2 separate regions of the Homo sapiens genome follow, and region 1 is linked to region 2. Evidence: promoter capture Hi-C in 16 types of primary human blood cells and fetal thymus (Javierre and others, 2016). All regions are on one chromosome and are shown on one strand. Each heading gives the region's core, a stretch centred on a gene start or on the middle of the fragment in contact. The rest is flanking DNA. Distances are from core to core; before and after follow the strand shown.

Region 1 (2,700 bases), core at 88-2,587, 590 kb after region 2:
CAACAGAGAACAAATGCCCATGGTAATAGCCTGGAGAGACTTCTAGCACTAAGTTACAAGATTAGAAAAGAGCTGAGAGTGGTGCTGCTTCTCCCTGCCACTCAGCAGTGAGGATTGATAGTGGCTTTCATCATCTTTTACTGAAACAGGGAGGGAAATGCAAGCCTTAATCTAGGAAGAAGAGTCCAAGAGGCTTATAGCTCCACAGAGGGTTTTTCCAATGGAATAAATTTGGTTCTCAGCAAGTGTTTTCAGATTTTTGACACAGTAAGACTCATGACTGGTGCCCAGGATGTTCTGAATGCACCTGTCTCTATAGCTTTGCTGCCAAACATATTCTGCCAAAAAGGAAGCTTCCTAGCATGGTGCACAGAGTAGAGCTGCTATAGTACCACACAGATTCAGGGGAAGCAAAGAGAGTGGGCCAAGAGAAAAATATTAAAAGGAGCTGAATCTGCCTAAAGACACATTTGCTCTGATTTCTGAAATTCTTTCAGAAAGCAAACAGCAGGTAATAATTCTGCGTTCATGAGTGGAGTCTAGGGATGTTACCAAGTTGTTCACTTCTACATCAGTCATATCTAAATCACACGTTTGTGAACAAAGTATAGGCAATCTGAAGCCACATACTTTTTAAACTATGTTAGAGTTACAACTACCTAGGAAATGTCATATTTAACTTCTGGTCTTGGTAAAACTTTTCTTTGCAGACAGGGTGAAGCTGAGCTGAGCGTGGTGGCTCAGGCCTGTAAGCCCAGCACTTTGGGAGGCTGAGGCAGGCGGATCAACTGAGGTCAGGAGTTCGAGACCAGCCTGGCCAACACGGTAAAACCCCATTTCTACTAAAAATACAAAAATTAGCTGGGCATGGTGGCAGGCACCTGTAATCCCAGCTACTTGGGAGGCTGTGGCAGGAGAATCACTTGAACCCAGGAGGCGGAGGTTGCAGTGAGCCGAGATCCCACCATTGTACTCCGCCTGGGCAACAAGAGCGAAACTCCATCTCAAAAAAAAAAAAAAGGAAGATGAAGCTGACCATATAGAACTTATTAAGATAATTTTGTAAAGAACAAAGATTTTCAAGAGGATGAAATTTTAAATTGAGAGAATATTTTGAAACTTTACTATTTAGAAACATAGTTGCCTATTTAATGAAGCTGAAAAGAACGTGTATCATCTGGAAACTCTGGTCATGGTCTCCATTTTGAGATGAACTTCATATAACCAACATTACACCTCTGGCTTTGTTGCCAATATCTAACACATGAAGGAAACACAGAAGACGCTGCTCTGTAACTGCTTCCCATCACTATGACATGGAACAAATAAAAATTTGGGATGTGAAGAAAATGGGTAAGATGCTTTCCAATTTTTTGTGGACTTATCATACCCTCAAGACAACTGTATTTAATTCAAAGTTTATCAAGCATAATAATCACTTATCAAAATAAAGGAAAAAAAAAAAAAACAAGATGGCAGCAGAGTTAACTTATACTACATCCCAGGAACCACTGAAACTATCCTTAAGATTTTTAGACATAAAACAGGTTACACTGTTTCAAAAGAAGAGAGAAAAAAAGCCTAAGTTACCAGAATCGTCCAGCTCCTGACCATGAGATATGCCGGCTATGTCTATTTTCTTCAGCTTCTAAGTCAAAAAAGCAATTCATCGACTACAATTCCAGATGTACTGCATTCATTCCATACCTTAAAATTTGGAAGTACTGTTTTTGCCTGCTAGTTTAAGAAAAATCTGACTTGTAATGAAAGTGTAGGAGTCAGATGGTACTACTCTTTCCCTTGATTTTCAAGTGTAAGAAAACAAAGCGTTGAGTGATTAAGTGCTCACACCCAGGTGCAACCTGTGCCCAGGGAATTTTAGGTCTCGCCCAACTAGTACGATGCCTTGTGGGATGCAAACAACCTCCTCTTATTTCTCTCTGTGACTAAGACAGGCAAGGGAAGATCCATGAAGGTTTCCTTGTGTCACCTACTCCCTGGCTCAACAGGTGTTGCTCTGTATGCTCATTCGTGTTACTGTACCCTTGATCCTGGTGAGAGAGTGGGATGATGGGAGGTGACAGCAGGAAGAGCCCCACACAATCATCTCCTGCTTTGCCCCATGATCCATTGAAGCACCTGCAGGCTAAGGAAAAGGGGCTCAAGGGCACTCCCAAACTGAGGTCCTCAGTGGGACGGGGACATATGTATCCTGTGCCCAGACTACGAGTTAAGACAGCAGCCAGGTATTGGCACGTGGCTTCCTAAGTGAACCACAACACAGTTTAAGTTTAGAAGGAAAAGCTCTTACATAAGCTTTGGGAAACAGGAGTAGGTAACAGCAAATGAGCTAAAAGAACCACTCAAGTAACAGGAAAATATGCCTCTGTGCTATATGGCTGGGTGATCAGAGAATGCTTCTAGGTCACTGCCTGTATTACTGGACCCAGGTGTTAAAGATGCCTGCAGCTTGGCCCAAGCCTGAGGGGCCCTGCTCTTGGTGGCTTCTATAAACAGCTGGGTTTGCTCCTTTAGCTGGTCTAGTTCTACCTGAGTTGCCTGATTCTGACGAATCAACTCCTTGGTTTTCAAAGTGATCTCCAGCAAACCAGATTTATGTAGGACTACTAGGGTATTCTGAAAGCGCCTATGTTTGCTCTGCCGCTGCTCTGAAAAGATATCTGGGCTGCGGCAGAGGTG
Region 2 (2,861 bases), core at 126-2,625:
TAAAACACGGGGCACAAACCAACCTATTTCCCATTCTACTACTCACATCTGAGCCACTAAAAACTTAGAAGAAACTAAATCTTGCTCCATTTTGTTTCCAGGGGTTGACCTGAAACATGAATATCTACAAAAAGAGTGACCACGAATGTTTACATGTTGGTAAGCAAATATAAAAACCTCATCTCAAAACTGCAGCTGACAAAAATTGAAGGTGGTGAAAGATTTCAGAACTAATTATTCCAACCTTTATCTGTAGACTAGGCCTCTCCCGTAAGTTTCAATTTTAGTTACCGTGAAAATAACTATCATTTGCTGAGTACTTACACTGTATCTAACACAAGTCTAAGAAGTTTGCATATAAACTCAATCCTCTCAACAATCCTATGAGTTGGGTATTATTGACTCCATTTTATCGATGAGTAAACTGAGGCCCAGTTGTGAGCCCTTTTCCCATACTAACTTCAGTTATTCAAGTGATAACAACGATTAAATGGCCAAGTTGGAATTCTAACCCCAACGGTCTAGCTTCGGAGTCCACTTCTCAGCCACAATGATATACAACCTTTGTCCAATTGCCTGACGGAAACCTCACAAGTTTCTCAAAGTCAACACATTCAAACTTTACTCATCTTCTCTTGGCCTGCTCCTAACTTCTAAACAAACAATTCACCAATGCTAAAAACCCAGAAATCATTTCTCCCTTTCCTTTATTCCGTACACTTCTCCCACTTAAGCCATCACGAAACGGCATCTAATTTGCTTTTAAAACATTAATGCATCTGACCACCATCCTTCTACCATCGCCCTAATTCAGGTCCTCACGTTTTAAGTAAATTAATGAAATTGCCTTTTAGCTCCTCTGCACGCCTACAATCTTGCCACCTTGAATCCATCCTCCACACTACAGTCAAAATTATCCCTTCTAAATTGTAAATCTTGGTTACCAAGTAATAAATCTTTACACCAAATCACTCCTAAAGGCAAGAGCCGGTGCATTCGTGACCCCAAAAGCTCAAGGGACATCCCTAAACGGTTAACTGCAAACAAAATTTCTTTCTGCTCACTTGCATGCTCAGGAGCAGTCTCCTAATTCAGCCACCACGCTGACTTAAGTACCCTGCAAAAAGCAGAAGCTTTGAGGATCACTTGGACCTAAAAATTCCACTACTCCCACATCTCCATCACTCACTCGACGCCGCAGTCCAAGGAATTCTTCTCACAAAAGCAACCGGCTGATTGATACTTCTACGCAGCGCCGCAGCACCTCTCGCTGCTGAGGCCGCCATCTTCAGACTAAAGCACCTTCTCGAGCCGAGGTCGCGGCCCCGGAAAAAATTTCCGGATCCGGAACACGAGAGAATCTGCTTCCGGATCAGAGGGTATAGGCCGCGAGATGGGGAAGATGGCAGCGGCCGTGGGCTCTGTGGCGACTCTGGCGACTGAGCCCGGGGAGGACGCCTTTCGGAAACTTTTCCGCTTCTACCGTCAGAGCCGGCCCGGGACCGCAGACCTGGAAGGGGTCATCGACTTCTCGGCGGCCCACGCAGCCCGTGGCAAGGGTCCTGGTGCCCAAAAGGTACAGAGAGAGGAGTGGCGCGCGTCTCTCCATCGCTTTGCCCCGCGTCTTGGAGGGACTTACGTGTCTTCTTCGCCTCTTTTCACCTCCAGACCGATTGTTATTGAACGATTCCTGACCTCCTTTGGCTGCAGAGTCGAACTCCCCACTAACCGTCACACTTAGCAATAAAGCGTTGAGATGCCTGTTTCTTTAGGCGGCCATTCCTGGCGGGGGCGCTCAGTCAAAAGAGCCTGGGAATCCGTGTTTATTTCTTACTGTAACTGTCTCCTCACATTTCTGTTTGGGTTTTTGTAAAACCCCATAGAACGTCTTTGTAGACGGTAGGGTAGACTTCTGCAGCTTAAAAAAAACCACTCCCGAGGAATCCCAGAACTGACAGGGATGCGGCGCTGTTTGTTAAGCCACTGTGCGTAAAACTAGTCCCTGTCTTCTCCTCTGGCTCTTTTAGAAGGAGGTCATTGAAGGATTCTGAGAATCCCTCCGTGTTGAAAATAAATGGCAAACAAGTATATATGGAATACAGGCACCGTTCTCTCTCTCAGCTTTTCCCCATGGAGATTAAGAAGGGGAACACAGTCCGGGAGCGGTGGCTCAAGCCTGTAATCCCGCACTTCGGAGGCCGAGGCGGGTGGATCGCTTGAACCCAGGGGTTCGAGACCAGCCTGGGGCATGGCAAGACCCCCGTTTCCGCCAAAAATACAAAAAATTAGCCAGTCTCATAACCTGTTCTCAAGTAAATAGATTTTTTAAAAATTATTTTTTTAAGGGAACATAACAGGCAAGAGGGAAAACGGGGAACCAAAACTGTAGTCCAATTTATATTTTCTTTCTTTACAATCCACTTTAACGTTGAGGATATGCAGTCCCTTAATTTGCTCTTGGTGTTGTCCACAGATGTCTAGATGAGGCATTCTTTCCAAGCTTCCTAACAGCTCTGATAAAATTGGGATGCTACAGTATTAAGTGTTAATGATTGCATACTTGAGCTCAGCTTTTCAGCACCTTCATTTGTTAGGGAAAAAAAGTGGTCTTAGAGTTGTCAAAATACAGAAAGTCCACACCCCAATAATAATATACTTTTTCTCTCCAGAGCGCTTCAGACTCTCATTCAGCTCCTTTTACCTACATTTTACCATAATATGTACATGCTTTTTAGAATGTCAGCCATCAGGGAATGAGCCATTATGTGTCTAGTACAGGACCTAAAACAGTACTAAGTACAGTATGTGTTGAGTACATGAAAGCTTGGGTGTTTAGTTCCTCAGCTCAAAGCAGATTAAAG

The links. Contacts are between HindIII fragments. The CHiCAGO score rates a contact against its expected background, and 5 or more counts as called.
Region 1: a fragment that was not itself captured here is called in contact with the fragment with the promoter of ALKBH1 in region 2 in 1 of 17 cell types (total B cells); the score reaches 5.8 in total B cells.

Annotation. Positions count from the first base shown.
Region 1 is chr14:77,114,010-77,116,709 of GRCh38, reverse strand. CIPC (CLOCK interacting pacemaker) reads right to left here. Exons shown (of 4, transcript NM_033426.3): 4 at 1-2,700. The coding sequence ends at 2,392. Among named protein-coding and RNA genes, the nearest start is that of CIPC, 17 kb to the right of the region's middle. The HindIII fragment of the contact is 1,963 bases long and covers 356-2,318 here.
Region 2 is chr14:77,706,537-77,709,397 of GRCh38, reverse strand. ALKBH1 (alkB homolog 1, histone H2A dioxygenase) reads left to right here and starts at 1,375. Exons shown (of 6, transcript NM_006020.3): 1 at 1,375-1,576. The coding sequence starts at 1,394. SLIRP (SRA stem-loop interacting RNA binding protein) reads right to left here and starts at 1,295. Exons shown (of 4, transcript NM_031210.6): 1 at 1,190-1,295. The coding sequence starts at 1,286. RefSeq lists an enhancer at 1,412-1,741. The HindIII fragment of the contact is 1,367 bases long and covers 1,136-2,502 here.